2 separate regions of the Homo sapiens genome follow, and region 1 is linked to region 2. The links are contacts of gene promoters, found by promoter capture Hi-C in blood cells and fetal thymus (Javierre and others, 2016). All regions are on one chromosome and are shown on one strand. The core of a region is centred on a gene start or on the middle of the fragment in contact, and the rest is flanking DNA. Distances in the headings are between cores, read along the strand shown.

The links. Contacts are between HindIII fragments. The CHiCAGO score rates a contact against its expected background, and 5 or more counts as called.
Region 1: a fragment that was not itself captured here is called in contact with the fragment with the promoter of SELENOT in region 2 in 1 of 17 cell types (fetal thymus); the score reaches 6.7 in fetal thymus.

What each region holds. Positions count from the first base shown.
Region 1 is chr3:152,269,348-152,274,441 of GRCh38, forward strand. All of the region lies in intron 1 of MBNL1 (muscleblind like splicing regulator 1), which reads left to right. MBNL1-AS1 (MBNL1 antisense RNA 1) reads right to left here and starts at 279. Exons shown (of 2, transcript NR_027038.1): 1 at 81-279. RefSeq lists an enhancer at 1-469 and a silencer at 1-29. The HindIII fragment of the contact is 379 bases long and covers 2,444-2,822 here.
Region 2 is chr3:150,601,925-150,606,861 of GRCh38, forward strand. It overlaps SELENOT (selenoprotein T), which reads left to right and starts at 1,397. Exons shown (of 6, transcript NM_016275.5): 1 at 1,397-1,575. The coding sequence starts at 1,439. It overlaps LOC124900547 (a long non-coding RNA gene), which reads right to left and starts at 1,259. Exons shown (of 2, transcript XR_007096128.1): 1 at 1,020-1,259. RefSeq lists enhancers at 1,186-1,265, 1,386-1,535, 1,508-2,281, 1,556-1,855. The HindIII fragment of the contact is 3,294 bases long and covers 869-4,162 here.

The DNA of each region.
Region 1 (5,094 bases), core at 1,383-3,882, 1.7 Mb after region 2:
CGCACGGCTTGGCAGCCCAGCGGGACCCAGGGAGAAACAGGGGGGCGAGAAGAGAAACAGGTGCGTGCAAGTGTACTCACAACTTAATGACCTTTGTCGGGGGAAGGTGTGAGTCCCTCTGAGTCGAGCGGCGCGCGGGTCTTCCCGGCGGCTCCCGCATCCCTGGCCCCGGGGCTGCCATCCCGCCCGGTTTTCATCTGGGCCAAATATGTGCACGCAAAGGTTAATTCTCTGCTTGCTACCCATAAATTACGCATGACATGTTTAGCTGGGCTGCCTTATATGGAGAGTGCTGTATTTCAGGCCAGTTTGCCTTTTGCCAAGTTTACAGGGCGGAAGACGCCCTGTAGGAGAGGGCTGCCTCCTCCTTTTCTTCTTCTTCTTTTTTTTTTCATCGTTTTGTAGTGCGTCACTCAAAAACTGTAAGAAAAGTAAGTATAGAAGCTCTTTGGGTGGAGCCGCAGTTGGTTGAATTGCTTTCATGAAAGGTTGAAAAGAATGAAAAGTAGTTAGTACTTGGGTTCTGGTTTTTAGACAAAAGCAGGACAAATATGTAGCCACCCCCCAACTTTTTTTTTTTTTTTTAAACGGAGCCGGAATCTGTTATTGGTAGTAATGTGTCATGTGAGAATACTTTGATTCCAGAGCCTGTAACACGAGCAGGTATATGGTGGCGCTTATGCCTTCCCCTCGCACAGCACTTTACAACTACAGGGGTGTTGCTGCCAGAGTAATATTGTATTCTTAAGGCTCTCTGGGGCCGGGAGAGTATGCGGCTGTTGGGATTCTGGGGTGTATTTCCGTGGAGTATGTCTCCCCAGGATTAAAGTTAAGAAGCTGCCGGAAAGGTTGTTGCCGCTGACTTCACTTTGTGTGCCCACCAGCACAGGCACAAGTCATAGCAGATGGATGGCAAACTCTGCCATATACTCTGAGGAGTTTCTTAAATTAATACGCTAGGAGAGAAGTCATAATTAATGCTTTTAGACTTTCGAGCCCTCTGCAGCGTGCTTTGAAATACTACACCGGTGGACACTATGTCCCTTCCTCCTGGGTTTGAACACAGTGTCTGTTTATACACAGAGGGTGTTTAGTACCTAAGTATTCTATACCAGCACAAGAGAGCCACTCCACAGTTATCTCTCTGTGTGGATTCCTAAGTGTGTTGGTGTTTCTCCTTGCTGTTGAGATAAAATATTATCACCCAGAGAGAAAATGAAAGTTCAACGACTGTAAAATTTATCCCAGGAATGTGCAGTTCAATACTTAGAATGTCTTAGATGTAGTTATAGATAGAGGCACTGAATAAGTTATTTTGTAGCCTGAGAATGCACATCGCTGTCACTTGTATCTTGCTTTCTTAAAGTTGGTGACAACTAAGGCTAAACTTCTTTAGAAAACCTAATGTTCTAGTTTTTATCTGTTTTGTGTATTTGCATGGGAGTTACTTTATTATTATTATTATATTGTTAGGTCTTCTTTGAAAATGTAGGCATAGCTTTTTTAGTCTTATTTGTTTAATGGGGGGTTTCCTTGCTGAAGACTACAAAAGTTGCCTTTTGTGTTTTAAGGAACAGGTTGGGTCAGCAACAGAAAACCTGTTCATCTATAATTATAGTGTCACTTAAGACATAATAATCAGATTTCATTATTACTAAGAGACTCAGAAAAACCTCACATATGCCTAGTTTAATTTTTTTCCTTATGTAACTGTGAACAAATTTGTGTGTAGATACACATCAAGTGTGGTACTCTGCGCAGTCATGCCAAAGAGAAACTGAAGTGTTATATGGTTTGAGATATTATTGCTTGTGTTTACATTTCCACATTTGAGGCAAAGTTAGACTCCAAGTTGAATTCATTAAATTTTGATTCCAACATTCTGTTCTTCCTTTGGGCACAGAATTCCTATGAAATGAAACACTGGGTTTTGTTCCAGAACAAGAACAGACTAACCCAAAATTTCTCCTGGGGGAAAAAAAAAGAGTAAAATTATATTTCTCATTGAAAATTGTATTTCTCATTGAGGAAGGGTGTGTTACTTTATTATATAAAATGCCTTATCTTCATTATAAGAAAAAAATGCCCTTGCATTTGTCACTGTTGCCATACATTAGGCCTGTATTTGATAGATCTATATGGAAACAGAGAATAAATAATCTTGCTGCACCTTCTGGCTTTCTGCTTGGTGATAGATGTGCGGATTAGAGAACATCTCAGGTCTTGGTTAGGAGAAGCTGAAAAGAATAGGTGATTGGGTTTTTAAAATTCTGTATGCAAAGGCATTAGGGTGGGTAGTAGATATGAGAGTCAAAAGAGTGGAGGAAAGAAGTGAAATAGGTTCACGAAGTGATTGGCCCAAAATAAAATCCCATCAACCATATGGATCATAGAGAATGTGACATAGAAAGATTTTAAAGTGTATGGTTTTTTTAGGCCAAAAAGCTTCATATGTTTGGAAATCTAGAATGTGCTGTCCAGTACAGTAGCCACATGTGGCTGTTGAGCACTTGAAATGTGTCTTGTCCAGATTGAGAAGTGTAAAATACTACCGGTTTTGAAAACTTTATATGAGGGGAAGAAAGTAAAACATCTGATTAATATTTTTATATTTATGATATGTTTTAATGATAATTTTTGATATATTGGTTCTAATAGAAGATCTTACTAGATTAACTTCACCTGTTTCTTTTCTCTCTCTCTCTCTCTCTCTCTCTCTCTCTTTCATGGTGTCTAGAAAATATAACAAATGTGGCTAACATCGTATTTATTTTGGACAGTGTTGTTCTAGGATAAAGCAGGAAAACAATATTCTGGGAGAAAGCTTAAAGATTTTGCTGGTCAAAACAATAAAATTGGCTTATTTTATTATACATAGAAATACCTCGTCTTTCTTATCCATTGTAACCAAAATTTGAGAAAACACACCACCTAACATCTATTTTTATTTCCTCAAAGCTGCTATTTAGTTTAGAGATTTGATGGTGAGGTAGTAATAATAGAGAAAAACTTATAATTAGAGAATGAGTCTTAACACCTCTCAAAGGCCAAAATAGAGTATGATTGTTACTTAGGAACATTTTAGAGACACTGTAGTTATCATTGTCCTGAAGTTACCAAACATAAACGAGTCACTAAAATTATTTTAAAATAGAGATTTTAGTAAATAGCAATTATCTTCAAATACTTAATATGTGTTTTCTTTTGCTAGAACTTTCTTTAGAAAGTTAAAAAAAAAAACCCATATCCAAAGTCCTGAGCAAATGTTAATAAAAGATTGCTGCATTCATAAGAATGAAAGATTTTTACCTGCAGATAGGAGGGTATTGTTTTGAATATTAGCAAAGGTGAAAATGTGTTTCTAACGTAACATTATGGGCTCTGAAGAATTTCTATACATGGAGACACTGTCTTTATAATTTGAACACATTCTTGAGAAGGCATCTGACTGGTAAACAAAGCACAATGGCATAGGTCCTGGAAACATTCCTTTCAGATATTTTCATAACTGAAGTACATTTTGCCATTCACAGTGAGTGTTAAGCTGAAAAAAATGTGGTTCTTTTCTAGCCATATAAAGTATGCTTACTATTATTTTCTCGAAGGATGCCAAAAAATGTAAAATGGATGTTGTGGATTCTTCGTGGGGAGGTTAGCTAGTTTGTATATAGAGCCTCAAGAAGAGTTGCCTCAGCTTGGTGCCATCTTGAGTCTGTCTTCCACTAGATGAGGCATAGCTTCCATTAGTGTCAGTGCGTGTGTGGAGGGTGAGGGGAAGAATGATCCCCATTAACTTTGTATATTGTTTCTGATGAGTCATGGAGCATATTCACTAATGGTTGGAGAATTATTGATTGCAAGGCAGAGGATTCAAGAAGAGCTATTGGCATATGGCATTAACTGTCTCTAGACATATTTTTTATTTTTAAATTTGAGGTAGAGAAATCGGTTTTTACGTAGTGTTTTTCATATTATAAAAAATAAACGTTTATATAAGCATTACAGATACATCCTTGAGGAAAAAAATAGTAAATACATGGTTATAGTTTTCTACATATTACCAGTTTTTTTCATAACAGATCCAGAACATCTCTTTCAGATAATCGTTCATGTTTTTAGAGAGGCATCTCATCATATGTGCCTGTGAAATCTGTAAAAATATGTGTAACACACATCTTGAAATATTTGTGTTAGGAGAATTAAGTCTTACACATTTGGTTCTTTTTCTACTGTTTTTGATTATGTTCTCTAGGTTACTATGATTATCTTTTGTTAAAACAGTTCAGGAAATATTAATCTCAAAACGAAATGTAGCCATATTGGACAGAGTAGAGAATTGCTTTTCCACAGAGACCAGTTATTCCAAAAAGGTGAAGATGTTTCTGAAATAATATCATGCTCATATGCTCCAAAAGAAAAACCATCATCTCTTTTGACATTCTTTTAGGAAACTGAGAGATGTATGTTTTATATACCAAAAGAGGTGAATAATAGTTGATAAAGGTATGCAAAATACATACTCCTGTGAAGTGTGAACATACAATTTGTATGTAACGCATGCATGAGCATATAACTTTCCCCAAGACAATGCCAATTTATTCAAATCACCTGAATGTTAAATAATATCATACTATTAAGAAGAATTGTGGTAAATATGAAATCTAAATACCAGTGATGATGTCCATGCTGATGTCAACTCCATTCCAGTCCTGCTTTAGCTAAATTCACAAAATGAAGAGATGTCTTTCTCCAAAGTAGTTTTCCAAAAATTTGTATTTGACACTGGATTTTTTCCTACGTTTTCACTTTTAAAAGTTTAGAAGCTATTAACTAAAAATGAACTTGTTTTAGAGAGCTAAGAAGATTCTAGATTTATGGGGACATTTAGTTCTATGAAATAAGCATTACGTTGCTGACTTGAAATATTATTCTATCATATAAAGTTGATTTATAAGTGAATACATATTGTGAAAAAATACCACAGTAGACTTAGTGAAATCTACCAAACTTAATCAAGATAGATATACGTTGTCCTCAAAAAAATAAGAATCTGGTAGGGAAAATAAGAGCTTCGAAAATAACTATAAAGTAGAA
Region 2 (4,937 bases), core at 147-2,646:
CCTATTATCTCTCCATACCACCCCCAAAAATTTTCGCTGCCCCAACACTTTACCACTATTTTGTTTTATTTTTCTTATTAATATAAGAAGACAGGAATGTCAGGCCTCTGAGCCTAAGCTAAGCCATCATATCCCCAGTGACCTGCACATATACATCCAGATGGCCTGAAGCAACTGAAGATCCACAGAAGTGAAAATAGCCTTAACTGATAACATTCCACCATTGTGATTTGTTTCTGCCCCACCCTAACTGATCAATGTACTTTGTTGATCAGTAATCTCCCCCACCCTTAAGAAGGTTCTTTGTAATTCTCCCCACCCTTGAGAATGTACTTTGTGAGATCCAACCCCTGCCCCCAAAATATTGCTCTTAACTCCACCGCCTATCCCAAAACCTATAAGAACCAATGATAATCCCACCACCCTTTGCTGACTCCCTTTTCGGACTCGGCCCGCTTGCACCCAGGTGAAATAAACAGCTGTGTTGCTCACACAAAGCCTGTTTGGTAGTCTCTTCACACGGACATGTGAAACACTGTGGTCAATTTTTTTTCTTTTTAATAATAATTCTTTTTTAGAAATATGTGCTTAAATAATTGTAAGCCAGGCATAGTTGCCTGTGCCTGTATTCCTAACCACTTGGGAAGCTGAGGCAGGACTGCTTGAGCCCAGGGGTGTGAGGCTGCAGTAAGCTATGATCACGCCACTGAACTCCAGCCTGGGTGACAGTGAGACCGTGTTTAAAAATATATATATACAGATGAAATGATATGATGTCTGAGATTTGCTTCCAAATATGCCTAGGAAGGGAAGAAGTGTTTAGAGATATAGACAAATCAAGATTGTCAAAATGTATAGTAACTGTTAAAGCTTGCTAAGGTAGTTATTCTATTTTTGGATATGTTTGGAATTGTCCAAAGGTTTCCTAAAACTTATGTTTAATATTCTTTCAGGAGAAAGCAATATTGTAAGATCAAAGAAAAGGCCATAACAGCGCACCCAAAAAATTTCAGCATTACCATTCTGAGGGTCAGGAGTCTCCTCCCTTCCATCCGCCAACACTTGAATCAGGACTATAAAGTAGGTGTTTCCAAGTCTCAGGCAGGTAAATGGATAAATTGCAAAACTGGATGCAGAACTCACATCTGCCTCATACATAGGCCCTGTGACACCCCACCAGCTCCTTTGCTCCCTTTCTGCCTTTCTCATGCCGTCCCAGAGTCTTGCACACTACCAAGATGGTGGTGAGTCAGGACAGTGAAACAGGTCGGCTCTTCACTCCAGGAGTGTGCGCGGGCGCCGGGCCGCGCAGGCGCATTACTGCTCCCCTCCCCCGACCTTGGCTGATCGCGCCTGCGCAGTGGGGAGCAGCTCGCTCCTGGGCTTTGGGCTGGCTGCAGTCTGTCTGAGGGCGGCCGAAGTGGCTGGCTCATTTAAGATGAGGCTTCTGCTGCTTCTCCTAGTGGCGGCGTCTGCGATGGTCCGGAGCGAGGCCTCGGCCAATCTGGGCGGCGTGCCCAGCAAGAGATTAAAGATGCAGTACGCCACGGGGCCGCTGCTCAAGTTCCAGATTTGGTGAGTATGTGCACTGGGCCCCGGCCACCCCGCCGCGCCTCTGCTCGGCGCCATTGGCTACGCGAGGCCCCGGCTTCGCGGCCTAAATGGCCGCATCTTCGCTGGCCTCGTAGAACTGTGCCGGCGCCCTTCCACAGCCAGCCTTCTCGCGGCCCCTTAGCGCGGTCAGGCCGCCCTCCTTTTCCAGGTATAACTGCTCACTTGTTTTTTGCCTCCTAGAACAGTGGGAATGGGGAAGGAGGGCGCGAGAAGGTTAAACGCTGAAAGGCGAAGACTGGGGGACACCTGTTAGTACGGAGGACTGGTTGGCGGCGTCACGCCATAGCCACCCCGGCTGCCTGCGGAGATGGGGATGAGTAGGCGCCGCGTCGGCGGAGGAGCGCCAACCGTTTGTCAGTTCACTTTTTCTGCCCTCTTTTCCGGGGTAATGCCGGGCGGCTTCGCTGCCTGGCTAGATGAAGGTTAATTCGGGTCATTGGAGAGGATCCGGGAGTGACAGACGCCGTTTTTCTCCTGAACTTGCTGGGGGGACTGTTGAGTTTGCGAATGGGGCGTCTGACAGCTGGAGGGGGTGGAAGGAAGGTCTGGGGATGCTGGTTCTGTTTGCCATTTCCAAAGTGTCAGAAAAGGAGCACGTTGTTCTTCTAAACATTGACAGTTCGCTCGCATTCCCTCCTCACCTGCCTCCCAGGAGTTGCCTGCTCTGGCATCTCTTTCTACCTTTCAGTTGTCTTGTGTATCCAGCAGATCTCGGCAGTTTTCGACAGTGTTCTTTAAATGATTTTGTTTTTAACCTAATCGTTAGAAGCAGGGCAATGATGCATTTTATACGGTAAGTGGGGTTGCGGGTGGGGATTGAAAGGCTCTGAAGATGGGGGAAAAAACACCAAAATTGTAAAATTATAGAAATGAGAATCTTACACCTCCAAAGATGACATTTTCTCAGGATAAACCGACCATCCCAGAATAGCCAGATTAGTAAATCATCAGAGTCCGGATACATTGGAATGTTGGTGTTGGACATCATTCATTTAAAACCTTCTTTTAAGAACTTCATGTATTAGTATATTAAAGTTTTGATTTTCTACTTCTCCAACTAGCTTTTTACTTACTCACTGAAGACCAAGCAAACCTTTAAAATAATTTTTAAAAATCGGCTTAAGGTGATGTTTGAGTTAGAAAATAAGATGGTGAGACTTTATTTTTTTGAGTGAAAACTAAAACATTGCAATTTCTCCTGATTAAAAACAAACAAGGCCGGGCTCGCTGGCTCACGCCTGTAATCCCAGCACTTTGGAGGCCGAGGCTAGCGGATCACCTGAGGTCGGGAGTTCGAGACCAGCCTGACCAACATGGAGAAACCCCCATCTCTACTAAAAATACAAAAATTAGCCTGGCGTGGTGGCGCATGCCTGTAATCCCAACTACTTGGGAGGCTGAGGCAGGAGAATCGCTTGAACCCGGGAAGCGGAGGTTGCGGTGAGCCGAGAACGCGCCATTGCACTCCAGCCTGGGCAACAAGAGCGAAACTCCGTCTCAAAAAAAAAAAAAAAAACCTCCCTGTACAATGTACTATGTTTCTGGAATATATCATCTTTCATGTAATACTGCAAATGGGAGAATGGTTTATCCATTAACTTTTTTCCTTAATTTTTAAATTAGAAGGTGGTAATCATCTTACTAACCTAAAGATTGTTAAGGGTTGTGATACTTACGGATTTAAGTGTTAAAAAATTGCAGTTTTCAAATTATTTAATTTTTCTGTATCCTACTTTTATCTCTTGGTTGTATTTTTGCTTTTCCAAAATACCCCTTTTACGTTTGCTTTTTTTGGAACACTTGTCACAATAATTTACCAGGTGTATCTTCCACCAAGGCTATTCATAGCAAGGTTTTCAAAATGTGTAAACAAACGTAGGGAAGGGCATTCAGTCCTTCAAATTAAACTTAAAAAAAAAGTAGTAAGTACTTCAGTTAAACTTTTGATACTTTGTTTTTCTTTGTTTTTAAGTACAGACCTGTCCCAAAAGTCTAATAATTTTCTTTTACAGTCACTCTGAGCATGTTATATAACAAAAATGCTTCCATTTAAAAAATTATTTTTATTTTTATTTTTCTGACACTATCCACCGGAGATCATTTTTTGTTTAATCTGTAGATGGGAAATAACGTTATTAATAAGACCCACCAAATACAGATCAACTTAGCTTGTTGTTTGTTGCTTTTCCCCCCAGAGATTAATCTGTTTATGGTAAAGTGAATATTGGGTTTCTGGTTTTGCTAGAATCTTGTGGACATTAATTTGCAAGTTTGTTTGAGAAAGGACAGGAAGCTAATACGTTTGAGGATAAACATGAGAATTTTAAAATTCCATTTGAAGTCAGTATTATAAAATGCAGCTTTTCATTAATTACCACTGCTAACAATCAAAAGAGAACTATTTTACCTTCATTTCCACTGACTTTTTCCCCTTATAGTGATCATGAGTATTTTATCAAAAATAACTATACCTCAATATATCACCTGGTAATTGTACCACTTTTGCAATTGTTAGTCAACACAATAGCAACATAGTGCTGAGAGATCAAGCTTGTAGAGTAGCTTACGACAGAGTTTCCTATTCTCGTTTTTTTTTTTCCTTTCTTTCTTCCTTTTTTTTTTTTTTTGCTGAGACAGAGTCCCGCTGTGTCACCCAGTTTGGAGTGCAATGGCATGATCACGGAGCCTTGACTTCCTGAGTTCCGATAATCCTCCCACCACAGCCTCCCAAGTAGCTGGGACTGCAGACGCGCACCACCACGCCTGGCTAATTTTCATATTTTTTGTAGAGACCTGGTCTTGCCTTGTTGCCCAGGCTGTGTGTAATACCTGCTGTATGCCAGGAATTAAGCATGCTAAAGATGTGACCATCTCAAGAAGTCTACCAGACTGGCACAGTATTACTTGTGTATCTGAGTCTGTGGTTTATTATGTTGATTGAGCAATATAATTAGATACTTTTGATTATATTGGCTTCATACTTGGAAAAAAATTTATTCTGCTTATTTGGACGTTTAACACTTAACATAGAAAAAGGAAGTTCTCTAATCAGAGCTTAAAATTCCATTGTTTTTGAGACAGTGTTGCTTTGTTGCCCAAGCTAGAGTGCAGTGGTGTGATCTCAGCTCACTGCAACCTCTGCCTCCTGGGCTCAAGAGATTCTCATGCCTCAGCCTCCTGAGTAGCTGGGACTGCAGGTGTGCACCACCACGCCTGGCTAATTTTTGTATTTTTAGTAGAGACGGGGTTTCACCATGTTGGCCAGGCTGATTTTGAACTCCTGACCTCAAAGTGACCTACCCACCTTGGCGTCCCAAAGTGCT